Regions from separate parts of the Homo sapiens genome. Here all the other regions are linked to region 1. Evidence: promoter capture Hi-C in 16 types of primary human blood cells and fetal thymus (Javierre and others, 2016). All regions are on one chromosome and are shown on one strand. Each heading gives the region's core, a stretch centred on a gene start or on the middle of the fragment in contact. The rest is flanking DNA. Distances are from core to core; before and after follow the strand shown. Region 1 holds the start of RBM45 (RNA binding motif protein 45). Region 2 overlaps PLEKHA3 (pleckstrin homology domain containing A3). Region 3 overlaps PRKRA (protein activator of interferon induced protein kinase EIF2AK2). Region 4 overlaps OSBPL6 (oxysterol binding protein like 6).

Region 1 (3,684 bases), core at 426-2,925:
ACCATGTAACATAATCTGATATTACTTTGCATTATATATTTACATGTAAGATTTCCACAGTGGGGGAAAACAAGCCCTCGGGACATGTCTTTCCTGTTCCTCATTATATATCTAGCTCCTGGCATAGAGCCTGGCACACAGTTGGAGTACAATAAGTATTTATCTGGTTGACTTCATAGCAACCTAGGTCTTAGCATCCAGAACTTGTTCATTTGAAGAACTCCGCCCTCGGTCTACTTAGGGGTTTATTCCTTTCACTTCATTCCAATGCCACTGCTAAATCCAGGCCTTGTTTCTGGATTTCTACTGGGTTTCTGACCTCTCCTCTAAGGCTTGTTAACAAGAAGGCATTTCCCACTTTGCTTGCACTCTATGATTTCTCTTAGTTCCACAGCTGAGCAGTCCACCCTCACTGCCCTCCAACCCCAGGGTTGCTTGTAGAAGTTGAGTAAATCAACAGATGGAGTTAGTTCTGGGTTTTTTGTTGTTGTTGTTGTTGTTTGAGGTGGAGTCTCGCTCTATCCCCCAGGCTGGAGTGCAGTGGTGCAAACTCTGCTCACTGCAAGCTGTGCCTCCTGGGTTCACACCATTCTCCTGCCTCAGCCTCCTGAGTAGCTGGGACTACAGGTGCCCGCCACCACGCCAAACTAATTTTTTTGTATTTTTTTGGTAGAGACGGGGTTTCACCGTGTTAGCCAGGATGGTCTCGATCTCCTGACCTCGTGATCCGCCCGCCTCGGCCTCCCAAAGTGCTGGGATCACAGACGTGAGCCACTGCGCCTGGCCAAGTTAGTTCTGGTTTTAGTCGTACTTTTTATCTCTATTACTTTGGCTATGCTATAGGCCTCAGTTTCCTCATCTCTAACAAATGACGCTGAAATTGAATGATCTCAAAGCTTCCTTCCAACTCTAATGCTATATAGTTTGAACTCTGTCCTATATTGATCATCTATTGAGCTTATGACCAAGATGGTGACAACTCTCCACTTTGACCAAAACTTAGTTAGGCTCCTTTGAGTCCTCTGCTTGACTAGGCTTGATCTTGGGCTTTCTGTCCTTGTAGAATCCAATTTGAGCAAGAATCCTGCTGAATCAGTGTAGTGAAAATCCTCATTCTTGGTGTCTGACTACCATGGATATCAATCACCCTGGCCTGCCTTCAGCAACTATCCTGTCAAGTTGGTTTAGCCAGAATCCTCCTTAACACTGATGTTCCCTCTTTGTAATTTTCCATCCACTGACCTCCCACCAAGCTTCTTGGTTAGAAATTTGTCCTTATTAGAGTCAAAATTCAGTCCAATCTCTCTCTCCCACTGCAAGACCCCATTGCAGCTGTCCCTGGACCTATCTCCATGGCTCCCTTTGTCAAAGTCGGCCTTCCTGTACCATCTCTAACGAGTGTCATGAATAATTTTTTCTTTAACACTGGAAAGAATCCTTGGCCTTAGGGGTGGGGTAAAGCCAGCGTTGGGAAAGCCTGTGCATTAGGCAGCGCTGTTCTGCCTGCAGGGAACGATTGCACAACTGATAACTTGGGCCTAGGCTCAGCTGGATTTGAGGATTTGAGACTTAGACTGGGTCAGGGTCCCCCGCGTCGCCAGGGGGCGCTGCAGGCCGCTCCCCGGAAGGCCTCATCCTGCGCGGCTGGACAGCGCCTGGCGCCGGACTCCTCTTTCTCCCGGAAGCGGAGCACCGAGCCGGCAAAGGCTTGGGTGTGAGACAGCAGCGGTGGCAGACACCGCAGAAGCAAAGAGCAGTGAGGCTCCTGCATTCGGGTGGAGCACCATGGACGAAGCTGGCAGCTCTGCGAGCGGCGGGGGCTTCCGCCCGGGCGTGGACAGCCTGGACGAACCGCCCAACAGCCGCATCTTCCTTGTGATCAGCAAGTACACACCTGAGTCGGTGCTGAGGGAGCGCTTCTCGCCTTTTGGCGACATCCAGGACATCTGGGTGGTGCGGGACAAGCACACCAAGGAGTCCAAGGGCATTGCTTTCGTCAAGTTCGCCCGCAGCTCACAGGCCTGCAGGGCCATGGAGGAGATGCATGGCCAGTGCCTCGGCCCCAACGACACCAAGCCCATCAAGGTGCGGGTGCCCGGGTCGGGGTGCCCTCGGGGGAAGGAGTGGGCCTCTTGGACCTCCCTTCACCTGCTGCTCTGCCGGGGTGAGGGAGGAGTGGAACATCCGTTCCCGGCAGCTGACCAGACAGCACCTGGCTTGGGGACAGGGGCTGCTTTGAGGAGAGGCTCCCCTCCCACGAAGCTGCGCCGGGTTGCAGGGAAGGGGACGGGATGCGGAGTGTTTGCCCCACGAGAGCGGACCCGGCAGCCGCGGCCACCGGGTGACAGAACAGCAGTGGCTGGGCTTCCCCTCTCCCTCGCCCTCACTAATCCACCAGCTCTTGAGTTCACTGCCAAACTCGTCCTAGCCTACTTTGAGTACTTTTCTGACCTTCCTCTCTCAGATGCCCAGATTTCCATATATAAAAAACGGAAAAACTCTACTTTTCCTCAGGTACAGATGAGGCGTTAACAACTTGACAGAAGTACTTTAAACTGGGGAGGGACCTCTGGTGTTGGACGTTTTCCTAGTACCAGGCGAAAGAATACATGTACAGAAAGAATAAGTGCAGGTGTTTAAAACGGTCACTGTTACATATTCTTCACATTTTGTTATTTTGGAAAATTGTTTTGAATGAGCTCTGTTTCTGAAAGTGTTAATAGCATACATTTGGTTCTTGACCCTTTCTGTTACTGCAACTTTTCTTTGAAAGCAGACCAAAGTAAACTGCCTTAAGAAGAGCCAAATCATTGTGATAATGACACATGGCAGGAAGGATCATTTTGAGGGTTATTTGACATAATATGTGCTGTCAGCACAGTGCCTCACACAGGGTAAGCCCTCAATAATGTCCTTGTTATTGATCAGTAGTAGCCAAGATGTCACAGCTTACTCCCTGTGATCTCAAATCAGGACTCAATCCTGAGAATCTGGCAATTGCTTAAATTGTAGCCTTCGTCTGCCCCATGTAAATAGTTGCTGTGTATGTTATTCTGTTGGTACTTTGCACAAAAATATTTTCTCAATTTTTTAAAAAATTGTTTTCCAAACTGAGAATGGTATTAATATGGATTTATGTAAATAAAGGGCTCAGAGATATTTCAGTCTCTGGAGGTCTTGCTCCATCCACCAAAGAGAAGGAGCCTGGGACTCTACCAACAACACAGTAAACAGTCCCTTCCTCCCACTTCTCCAACCCTCTGAAGTGTGTCAGAGTGACAGCAACAAAATTAATTGTAGGGCCACAGCATACAGGATCAGGAATTGGCAAACTTTTTCTGTAAAGGGCTGACTAGTAAATATTTTAGGCTTTGCAGGCCACATACAGTCTCTGTCACATAACCTTGTCTGTTTTTACAGTCCTTAAAAACTGTAAAAACAATTATTACATCATGGGCTATACCAAAAATGGAGCTGTGGTTTGCTGACCCCTGTACTAGACTAATGAATTTTATCGCTGTCCAATTATGACCTTAGTGGAGAGGATTTTTATATTTTGAGTGTAACATGGCCACAGAGCCCTTGTGGGCAGCCCAAAAAACTGTCCCATATTTGAAATTGATGGACCACCTTCCCCTGATAAATTTCTATAAGAGAAATTAAAGGCCCAACACCGAAATGTAC
Region 2 (3,684 bases), core at 781-3,280, 380 kb after region 1:
ACCCCGGGTCTATATGAGAATGTTGATTTGGGGAGTGCCACTGGGTGGCCCCTCAGGGAGCAGCACTGCCTGCATCATGAATGATAGTTCAATGTTTTTGGTATATGAAGCATCTGATACTGTGTGATTAGATGATTATTTGATTACCCTTAAATTACTTAAGTCTATAACTGTATTTCCCCTTTGTTTATCATCATAGTTCATTCAGCAGACAACACAAGAATGGAATTAATCATTCCTGGAGAGCAGCATTTCTACATGAAGGCAGTGAATGCAGCTGAAAGACAGAGGTGGCTGGTCGCTCTGGGGAGCTCCAAAGCATGTTTGACTGATACAAGGACTAAAAAAGAAAAAGGTAACTATAAACTTTTCCCTTGTGGTGAGAGTACTTTCTTAAATATAAATATAAATGTAACTAAATTAGCCTGTCCACTTTTAGTATCTATCCCAAGGAAATAATTAGAAATGTAGATTTACGTATATCTTTATCATAGTAAACATTTTGTAAAAGCTATAAATTTAGGGGAATGGCTCAATAAACTCTTTCTTTCTTTTTTTTTTTTTTTTTTGAGATGGAGTCTCACTCTGTTGCCCAGGCTGGAGTGCAATGGCGCGATCTCGGCTTACTGCAACCTCTGCCTCCTGGGTTCAAGCGATTCTCCAGCCTCAGCTTCCCGAGTAGCTGGGATTACAGGTGCCTGCTACCATGCCTGGCTAATTTTTGTATTTTTAGTAGAGACGGGGTTTCACCATGCTGGCCAAGCTGGTCTCGAATTCCCGACCTCAGGTAATCCGCTCGCCTCGGCCTCCCAAAGTGCTGGGATTACAGGCATGAGCCACTGCGCCCAGCCTAAACTCGTGCTTTCACTGGCTGATATATAGACAGTAAGATGTTGAAAAGGAATTTCAATGTGAGAAAATGCCCAGGGTTAAATGATCATTGAAAAAAGCAGGATTCAGAATTATGTGTATTGTTAGTATTCATTGGCTGGCTTAGGAAAGGTATGTAAGAATTGGTCAGATTGTTACCTTTGGAAGTGGAATTTGTGGGAAGGAGACTCAGTTGTCACTGTATATACCCTTTGGTATCTTTTGACTTTACCATGTACGCATATTGCCAATTCAAAAAGATTTTTAGAAACTGAAAGCAAAGCAAATGATTTATGTTATTAGTTCAACTATATACAGATATAATGTGAAAATGACAATTTCTTGATAGTGAGATTATAGTTTGTCTTAGTTCATTTTCTGTTGCTTTGACACAATACTTGAGACTGTAATTTATAAAGAAAAGAGGTATGACTCATGGCCCTAGAGGCTGGAAGTTCAAGATTGGGCAGCTGTATCTAGTTGGCTTCTGGTGAGGGCCTCATGCTGCATCATAGCATGGCGGAGGAAGCAAGGGAAAGCGGGTGTGTGCGGAAAGAGATCAAACCCAAGAGGCAGCCTCGATTTATAACAACCCGCTCTCATAGTAACTAATCTAGTCCCAAGAGGTTGAGAACTCACTCACTCCTTTGACGACCTAATCACTTGTTAAAAGTACTACTTTCCTAACACTGCCACACTGGGGACCCAGACTCAACATGAGTTTTGCTGGAAACAAACGATATTCAAACCATAGTACAGTTATTTGATTTTTCTTTTCTATATTTTTTCTATTTTTCAAAATTTTTTATTAAGTATGTATTACTTATATAATTAAATGCAAATTAATTACATTAGTGAAAGCAAGTAAATTATAGGTATTGAGAAATGAAGGCTGAGGATTGAATTTATAACAATTTTGAAATATATGAAAACATTACAGAATATAGCTACAGGTAGGATAAGAAGGAATGAATATTCACAATAGCTAAAAGATGGAAATAACCCAAATGTTCATTGGTAGAGGAATGGATAAACAAAATATACAATAGAATATTACTCAGCTTTAAAAAGCAAATTGTGACACATGCTACACTGTGGATGAACCTTATAGACATTACAATAAGTAAAAAAAGCTAATCATGTGGGGTGGGGGGAGGGGGGAGGGATAGCATTGGTAGATATACCTAATGCTAGATGACAAGTTAGTAGGTGCAGCGCACCAGCATGGCACATGTATACATATGTAACTAACCTGCACATTGTGCACATGTACCCTAAAACTTAAAGTATAATAATGATTAAAAAAAAAAAAAAGCTAATCACAGAAGGACATATAGTCTATGATTCCACTTATATGAAATACCCAGGGCAGTCATACTTATACAGACAGAAAATAGAATGTTGGTTTCCAGGGCCCAGGGGGAGGTGGAAACAGGGTTAGTGTTTAGTGGGTACAGACCTTCAGCTGGGGAAGATGAAGACGTTCTGGAGATGGATGGTGGTGATGATTTTACAAATACGAATGTACTTAATGGCACATTTTGAAGTGAATACTTAAAAGTGGTTAAAATAGTAAATTTTATGTTTATGTATACTTTACCACAGTTTTTTTTAAAAAGGAGAAAGAATAGGCTTAAATATGAGCAGGAATTGATTTAGGTTAGATTAAATGCGCAGATAGAGCTGCTTTGTCCATTCTGGCAAAAGTGGCTTTGTGGCTAGGACCAGAGAGCAAGACCACTGGGGCCTGGCCCAGGGAGTGTGGAGAAGCACCAGAAATTTACTCTATGAATTTTCCTCCTCTGTAGCTTATACTTCTAGTTTAAAAGGTATTGGCTTGTGAGTGGCTGAGATTATGGCTGGATGTTTAGTTTGTCTGGACATACTAAGGAAGAAAGTATGCTCTTAATAAAAAATTTTGAAAATAGTATAATGTGAGAATGAAACTGAAAGAAACAGAAGAAAATAAATGAATGTTTATAAACAATAGTTTTAATTACATAAAAATTTAAAACTTCTGTAAGCCAAAATAAAGAAAACTGAAAGGAAGCTAACAGATCTGGATAAGGTATTTGCAGTATATAAGATAGAGGAAAGATTACTATCTTTAATTTGTAAGAACTTTTACAAACTATCAGTTTATATTGTTAAGAGAAAAACCAACATCAGAACTGGAAAAAATGTATAAAGGACAAAATAAAAAAGCAATTCACAAAAGAAAACCAAGCACTTTTTAAATGGAAGATGAGTAATGGAATGGAAATATCCTGTATAAAACATCCAGTGGTCATCATCCTATCTCTGGAAATCACCTAAACATGGCAGGCATATAACTGTCAGCTTTTTCCCAATTATCTGAAGAGAAGATGTTTCCTTAGGGCTCTTGTATCCTGTTTCCAAGGTCTCACATTTCTTGAGCTATAGGTATTTATATTCATTGCTTTTTTAAATGATTACATTTTGTTACATTGCTCAAAGAATATGAAAATGATCTAACTGTATATTTATGTATATTCTTTTCAGAAATAAGTGAAACCAGTGAATCGCTGAAAACCAAAATGTCTGAACTTCGCCTCTACTGTGACCTCTTAATGCAGCAAGTTCATACAATACAGGAATTTGTTCACCATGATGAGAATCATTCATCTCCTAGTGCAGAGGTAGAGCGAAGAGGATCTCTTCACGTGTGGTTATGCTTTGGAGTACTCTGGGGGGATCCTCAGTCATTCCATAAGATGACAGGCATTTTCACATTGAGTTATTTTCAGCTTTTCTGGGTTCTGCCTACTGTATACTATCTGGAAATCTGTAGCA
Region 3 (3,684 bases), core at 614-3,113, 320 kb after region 1:
TCTGTATGAATACATGAGACCTACCTTCATTCATGTTTCCTCTATGAAGCTTTCCCTGCACTCCAAACACAGAGCTGAGACTTCCACCTAATGTAGAAAGCTAGCACGAGCCGGCGCTGACAGATGGAAGACTTGAGATGTTACAAGATTATATATGGAAACACAAAAGGTAAGGTTAAAATCTGTTCATTAGACTTATTTCCTAACCTTTTAATCACTCATCACTTTGGAACATTCTTGCAACTGAACTGAATAAGCTGGGAAGGTTTTTTGGGTAATTCTACTAACGCTTTTTTTTTTTTTTTTTTTTTTTTTTTTTGAGACAGGGTCTCACTCTGTCACCCAGGCTGGAGTGCAGTGCTGTGATCCTAGCTCACTGCAGCTTTGATCTTCTGGGCCCAAGCAATCCTCCCACCTCAGCCTCCTGAGTAGCTGGGACTCAAAGTGTGCCACCACACCTGATTTTCTTTTTGGTAGAGATGGGGACTCACTATGTTGCCCAGGCTGGTCTCAAACTTTTGGCCTCAAGGGATCCTCCCACCTTGGCCTCCGAAAGAGTTGGGATTATAGGCATGAGCCAACATGCATGGTCAAATGCTTTTTAAACTAGTAATTCACCTGTGTATGGTTATGTCAAAGAAAAATACAAGGTTGCATACGCTTAGAGAAAGTAAGGAAGTAACCCATTACATGTATGTTTGTAAATTTTACTTAGGCCATCATTTTTTATTTTCACCTTTGAATTTCAAAGTAAATTAGAGATATGTAAATAACAGAATTATCAACATTAAAATCTTATTCACAATGGCTAACAAGAACAGGATGACAGTCAAGTCAGTAGCTTTTTAATAAAATGAGCAGAATCCCATCGTAACAGTTCTTTGTTACATGAATTCAAATACACAGCAGACCAATCATGTTCCCTGAAATTTAACAATCAATCATACTTAATAAAGGCCTGTTAGTGCTGTCCCTCAAGACTCTAATTCTAAAGGGCTTCCTTTGAATTCCCTTTATAAAGCTTTGTGCAAAGAAGAGCTTAAGCACCAGTAAGAAAGACTGTCGCTAGCATTTTTATTTCATCATCAACAACAAACATGCAGTTTCTTTCTCTGATGTGCATGGCACTGTAAAATGGGTGCTACACTCTCTCTTGTGGTACAAAGTTTATAAATACAGTATACTGATACAAAGTTGAAGCCATTAAAAAGAGCTTAATAACAACTATGAGGAGATAATTAAATCTGGAGTGTTGATGGAATCTATGAAGAGATTTAGAAACAAGACATAAACACTACGGTAAAAGTTTTACTTGGGAAGGGGCCAGAGGGGAACTTTTTATGTGCTACTGAAAGATTTTTTAAGTTGCTCCAGATTTACTTTCTTTCTGCTATTATCTTTAAATACTGCAAAGCATTGTGAGCTGCATCACTTTGTGCATTGCCACAGGAGATACCGGAGCCATGACAGACTGTGATGGGGCTGGTGGACAGTTCAGCAAGACATTGATATTGTCCATTGGCGCTCAGTTCATCTGTAATGACACATTCAAGGATGACGATTAATGTCCAATATGTATAAAGTGGATCCCTTTGTAAAAACAATACAATTCTTATTATTGTCTTTCTTTTTAAGCCTCCATGGTATACTACACCACTCGCAATCTTTGTTTTGCTTGTACAAACAAAAAACCACAACTGCTCAGCTGTAGCAGTTTTCAAACACATTACACTTCATAATGATCTGACAGTGTTAAAGACATACAGATATCTAGGCTGCACTCTAGCTCACTCAATCAGAAATATACAGTTGGGGGTGGCTGATTCCTACACTTAAAAAAATAACAGCTCCCAAGGCAATTCTAATATAGTTAGTTGAACACTATTTGGAAATTACTGAACCACACAGTAACTTTCTCAAAAGGGAAAGAACCATTTGCTAGAGGACTGGAGAGATTGTATTTTCCACTAGGAAGTCATTTTCAGGAGGCATTTGAACCAGGAATAACTTCGGTCAAGGCAAAACCTCCCTTGTGTCTTCTATTAAAAAAAAATGTTTAATTGATACATAATAATTGTATGTATTTATGCTGTTGTCCATTCATGTTCCTAGGTTTTAAGTCTGTGCAGAGTCTAGTTCTTTATTTATACTGTAAATGGGTCATGGTATTTTAAAAACAATACCTGACCCAGGAAACAAACGTTCTTCCCATCAACTGATGAGCCACTCTTACTAAAGATGGCTGAAATGAGGGCAAAGAGGAAGAAATAGAAACGTGTGCGGTATGATTTATTTGAAGTAGGCATAATAAAAATGTTATTTTTGATACTCTATTTAGTGGAAAATATCCAGATACAATGGGATTATTTAATGAGTAAAGAGGCTTTCTAGTTCTAGTATCTAGGTTCTTTTCTCCTGACCCTCCAGCTTCTGCTTGAGGCTCATCCATGTTGTAGAATGTATCAGAACTTCGTTTCTTTTTACAGCTGAATAATATTTCATTGGAAGGACAGTCCACAATTTGTTTATCCACTTATTCACTGATGGATGTTTTGGGCTGTTTCTACCTTTTGGCTTTTGTGAATGGTGCTGCTATGAATATACAGATACCTGTGTGTATAGGCATTTGTTTAAATACCAGTTTTTTATTTATACTCCTAGGAGTGGAGTTGCTGGGTCATATGGCAATTCATTTGAGGAACTGAGAAGCTTATTCCATGGAGGCTGAACTGTTTTATATTCCCACCAGCAACGTGTAAGGTTCCAGTTTATCTACATCATCACCAACACTTGCTATTTTCCATTTCATTAATGATAGCCATCCTAGTGGATTTGAAGTGGTACCTTATTATCGTGGTTTTGATTGCATTCTCTATTGACTAATGATATCGAGCATCTTTTCATGTATTTTTTGGTCATTTGGTCATTTTTCTTTTTTAATTTTAAAATTTTGAGACAGGCTCTCACTATGTTGCCCAGGTGGTCTCAAACTCCTGGGTTCCAGCGATGCTCATGCCTCAGTCTCCCAAAGGGGTGGGATTACAGGTGTGAGCCACTTTGCCCAGCCCATTTGTATATCTCCTTTGGAGAATATCTAGGTTCTTTTGAAGGTAGCTGCATATAAACTAGCCAAATTAACAGACTGTGGTTTTTAGATGGCTTTCCATATCTACAAGAACTATTTAGTTCTCAAAACTGGGAAGAAATGTTTCAGAGGCATCATTAATTCATAATCTAAAAATTTATCTTGGGTTTCCTTTTTTCCCCCAGATTCTGTATCCTCCATAGTCCTATTCATGACATGGGTCGTTCATCTCTGTATTCTAAACCCTCAATGAACTGTAGACAGTAATAAATATTTATTGGATGAATGGTCTCTCATCAGCCACCTTTTCTTTTTTTTTTTTTGAGACAGAGTCTCACTCTGTCACTCAGGCTGGAGTGCAGTGGCGCGATCTCGGTTCACTGCAACCTCTGCCTCCCGGGTTCAAGTGATTCTCCCACCTGAGCCTCCCGAGTAGCTGGGATTACAGGTGCACGCCACCTTGTCTGGCTAATTTTTGTATTTTTAGTAGAGACAGGGTTTCACCGTGTTGGTCAGGCTGGTCTCAAACGCCTGACCTCAGGTGATCTGCCCGACTTGGCCTCCCAAAGTGCTGGGATTACAGGTGTGAGCCACCGCAC
Region 4 (3,684 bases), core at 878-3,377, 280 kb after region 1:
CACCCACCTTTCACTGATATTGCTGATTATAATAATTCAGTTCATGTACATAGAAAATATGTAAATCCTGGGAGGCAGAGGTTGCAGTGAGCTGAGATCACACCACTGCACTCCAGCCTGGCGACAGAGCAAGACTCCGTCCGTTACTGTGCGGTATTTTATGTTCATAGCAATTAGAAAACAATTTTGTGCAAATGAGGTTTTTTTTCCCCCAGAAAAGAGGATAATATGTTAAAATATCAACTGCTTTCTGCTTAGATTTTTGGAAGAAGGAAATTTAGAAGCTGCAGCATCAGAGAAGCAAAGAGTAGAGGAACTCCAGAGATCTCGGAGACGATATATGGAAGAAAACAATCTTGAACATATACCAAAATTTTTTAAGTAAGTCAGTTAACTCCCATAGCAAGTTCATGTTTTGCAAATGGTTGCCACAGGCCATGAGAAACTCCAGTTAAATGAAAATAAAATGGGTAAATGGATTTTGGTATCTTTGCTTTTGGCAGTGAAAATATTGAATCGATTTTGCACTTATGAAAAGTTAGTAACTATAAAAAGAAATTTTTTCTACAGCTCTTCTCTTTTCATGGGCAGCAGAAAAGAGTGAGCATCCTGCCCAGAAGGCTCTTTGTCCTTCAGCTGCACTCTTTAGAATGGTGGAAACTGGTTCCCACTCCCTTAGCCAGGGACTGAACCAGACCCCACTGCCCACAAGATCATCCTGGCTTTTATTAGGATTTCATTTTATTTCTATCACACAAAGCTTGTGTGTGTTTAGATTTGGTCTCTCTGTGGTATGATAGTAGGTGATTATTACAGGATTATTTGCAGGATTATATATACATCACACAGATTAATCTGAGGTTTCCAAATGCATCTGTTGCCCTCCAGAGCCAGGACAAAAAGCTCAGGGTAACCTTATCTCCTTTAGACTTGTCCTGTCATTACTGCCCTGGGGTAGAAATGCAGCCTTGCCCTTCAGATGTCTAAAATGTGCTCCTTGGACATGGGCCCAGTAGGGGCTCTTAGAGCTACTGATATTGCATACTTTTAGTGAAGGAGAAAGGATTCTTGTGGGTCTGGGACCTGAAGCTCTTAGTTACAGTATTTGTATATGCTTTATTGGGGGCTATTTACTTTTTACCCCTGCCAGGAGGTAATTTGTTCCTGCCCTGAGTTCCTCTCCCCCTGGCCCTACCTACTTCCATTTCACACATTTAACAACAAAAATGACTTCACTTCCAGTCAAAAATAGTCACATCATCAGTAGCTAGCAGATAAGATACTAACTGGCTTACAAACACTGCTTATATGTCCATGTCTAATCTATAGGAGAGGGTCCTATTTAAGGTTACCTTGATGTGATTCATGACTAATGTTGATGTTTATATTTTCACAGAAAAGTTATTGATGCCAATCAAAGAGAAGCCTGGGTTTCTAACGACACCTACTGGGAGCTTCGAAAGGACCCTGGGTTTAGCAAAGTAGACAGCCCTGTTCTTTGGTAGACTGGGAATGTAGAGCTAGCCAACATATCACATTCTGAATGAATAAATAACTATGCACAATTATGTTTCTTATAGCTATGTGTGGTTTCTGGGTCAACTGAAAACCTACCATTTGCTTTTCTATTCATCTTTATAATGGACTTTCAGAAGTGCATTAGACAAGGCCCCTAACCACTTTGGGATCCTTTCTGTTTTGCTGCAACCATATTCCTTAAAAAAAAAAAAAAAAAAAAAAAAAAAATCCACACCGTCCTTGGAAAGCAGAATAAAAGGAGCAGAATATAAAATCCAAAGTCTGACCAGTTTGTAAAGAAAAACAAATGGTAACTGGTGCTTAAAGCTGATCAAGAAAGTTAACAACAACATAGAAACCACACGATTGTTCCACTGTCTGGAAGCACCATCCCCTATCGCAGGACTCCTGGGCCACAAGCAGTCGGTCAGTGCAGACTTCAAGTGTGTCTGTTTGATGTGGTGTGATTGTGCTGGCCTTGTCGAAAAAGATGTGATGCTTCTCAGAACCTGTTCCATCTGTATGCCATTGTTCATGCCTTAAGAAATGCAAAGATGTACAATAAATCATTTTTAAAATGTGTGCTCATAGGTTTATGTGAAGAACAGATTTTTTGAATCATGGCATGATTCACTTTCTCAATCAGGACAATTATGAGACTAACTTAAATGGGTTTTTTAAAAGTGAACAACACGTGCTTTACTCTGATAAGTCAGTTACCATATGGTATGTCTGAAGGGAAAGAAGGAAAAGACGTGCTAAGTAGATCTCTGTATTTACGTGGCTCGTTAATTTCCTGTCCTGCGTCCAGATAATAAACCATCCCTCTTCCACCTAACCTCACAGTGTGCCCTATTATTTGGAAAAATCTGTCTTTGATTTGGACATTTGGTCATCAGTGTTAAAACCTTAAAAGGAAATAACAAAAAGCATATGGAATTCCTGTGTGGGCTTAGTAGTACTATAAATGTAATTGTTTTTGAGTGAAGCACCATGTAATCCATGTCTCAATCCCATGCCCGCTCCACTGACACTAGTCGAATTCCACTGAGAACAGAAGCAAGAATAATAGTAGTTTATTTGCATTGTTTAAATGAATTCTATGCAAAATCATATTTCAAATTTTCATCAAGTGATTCCATATGGTACATGGCTACATATTAAGCATTTACCTTGCTATTGGCAGAGATATGAAACTTAAGCTAAGGAATGTATCCATCCCAAAGCAGGAAAGCAGAAGTGTGTTTTGCATACTTCAGGATTTGTTTTTCCTCCACTAATATACAGAGGCTTTTGCAGAAAACTTGCATCAGTATTCCTGTTTCTGCACGTAGGTGACTATATAAATGCCTGTATGTTTTTTTTAAAATATCTCCTCAGAGATTTTCCTAGGGAATTATAAAATTACATATATTTTATTGTTAGTTAGATGTTTATTCTTGGATTCTTACCATTAGAATTTAAGTGTTATTTAAAACTCTGATACAGTTACAGACACTTTACATTTTATTATGAGGTGTTGATTTTAGTGGTATTTCTCCTCAGCAAAGCATTCCTAATAATGGCTAATACACCATCAAATGAAAAACTGCTGATGAGAGTGTAAGAGAAAGCGCTAACGTTTCCACTAGATGGCGCAATATTTTATTTATCCAAAACTCCTCCCTTGCATCTGAGTTTTTATGTTATGTGTACAGTCTGCATTAGCTTAGAATGGAATTTCATTCTCAGGTAAATTTTCGAATCCATCACCAGATCTAAGCATTCTGCTTCAACAATACCCTCTCTATTCCTCTCATTCCCATTTTAAATCCATAGGTGGCTTGCCCTGCGGCAGTAAAATCTTCCCCTTGATATTGATTCTTTTTCTGCTCATTCATCTTGATGTTCTTTTTCTGCATCCTGAGATACATGTCGTTAATTTTAATAAGAATCCTATTGACTTCCTCACGGGAGTCTGTTCTCCTATGGTTGATAAAGCTTTAAATACTATTTAAAGTGGTTCTGGTCTGTACTTACTAGCACTTCCCTGAACAGTCTCAAAATAGCCTAAACATAAGAAAACAATCCTGCAAAGTAAAGGTTTTTACAAGCAGAGATGAAGGAAAGGGAGCAGCAGCTGACCATCAGATGTGGTATCAGGTAGCTGGAAGAGGATCCAGGACC

What was found. The method cuts DNA at HindIII sites, captures the fragments that hold promoters and counts their contacts. A CHiCAGO score of 5 or more calls a contact.
Region 2: a contact is called between a fragment that was not itself captured here and the fragment with the promoter of RBM45 in region 1, in 1 of 17 cell types (erythroblasts). The highest score is 9.1, in erythroblasts.
Region 3: a fragment that was not itself captured here is called in contact with the fragment with the promoter of RBM45 in region 1 in 3 of 17 cell types (megakaryocytes, endothelial precursors and M0 macrophages); the score reaches 9.8 in megakaryocytes.
Region 4: a contact is called between a fragment that was not itself captured here and the fragment with the promoter of RBM45 in region 1, in 7 of 17 cell types (erythroblasts, megakaryocytes, M0 macrophages and 4 more). The highest score is 14.9, in erythroblasts.

What each region holds. Positions count from the first base shown.
Region 1 is chr2:178,110,762-178,114,445 of GRCh38, forward strand. RBM45 (RNA binding motif protein 45) reads left to right here and starts at 1,676. Exons shown (of 10, transcript NM_152945.4): 1 at 1,676-2,085. The coding sequence starts at 1,786. RefSeq lists an enhancer at 1,712-1,881. The HindIII fragment of the contact is 3,392 bases long and covers 1,252-3,684 here.
Region 2 is chr2:178,490,460-178,494,143 of GRCh38, forward strand. It overlaps PLEKHA3 (pleckstrin homology domain containing A3), which reads left to right. Exons shown (of 8, transcript NM_019091.4): 3 at 200-355; 4 at 3,394-3,530. Among named protein-coding and RNA genes, the nearest start is that of PLEKHA3, 12 kb to the left of the region's middle. The HindIII fragment of the contact is 5,507 bases long and covers 1-3,684 here.
Region 3 is chr2:178,430,721-178,434,404 of GRCh38, forward strand. PRKRA (protein activator of interferon induced protein kinase EIF2AK2) reads right to left here. Exons shown (of 8, transcript NM_003690.5): 8 at 694-1,534. The coding sequence ends at 1,377. It overlaps CHROMR (cholesterol induced regulator of metabolism RNA), which reads left to right. Exons shown (of 5, transcript NR_110204.1): 3 at 50-169; 4 at 2,662-2,755. Among named protein-coding and RNA genes, the nearest start is that of PRKRA, 19 kb to the right of the region's middle. The HindIII fragment of the contact is 1,688 bases long and covers 1,020-2,707 here.
Region 4 is chr2:178,394,055-178,397,738 of GRCh38, forward strand. It overlaps OSBPL6 (oxysterol binding protein like 6), which reads left to right. Exons shown (of 25, transcript NM_032523.4): 24 at 259-381; 25 at 1,397-3,684. The coding sequence ends at 1,505. Among named protein-coding and RNA genes, the nearest start is that of CHROMR, 18 kb to the right of the region's middle. The HindIII fragment of the contact is 2,738 bases long and covers 759-3,496 here.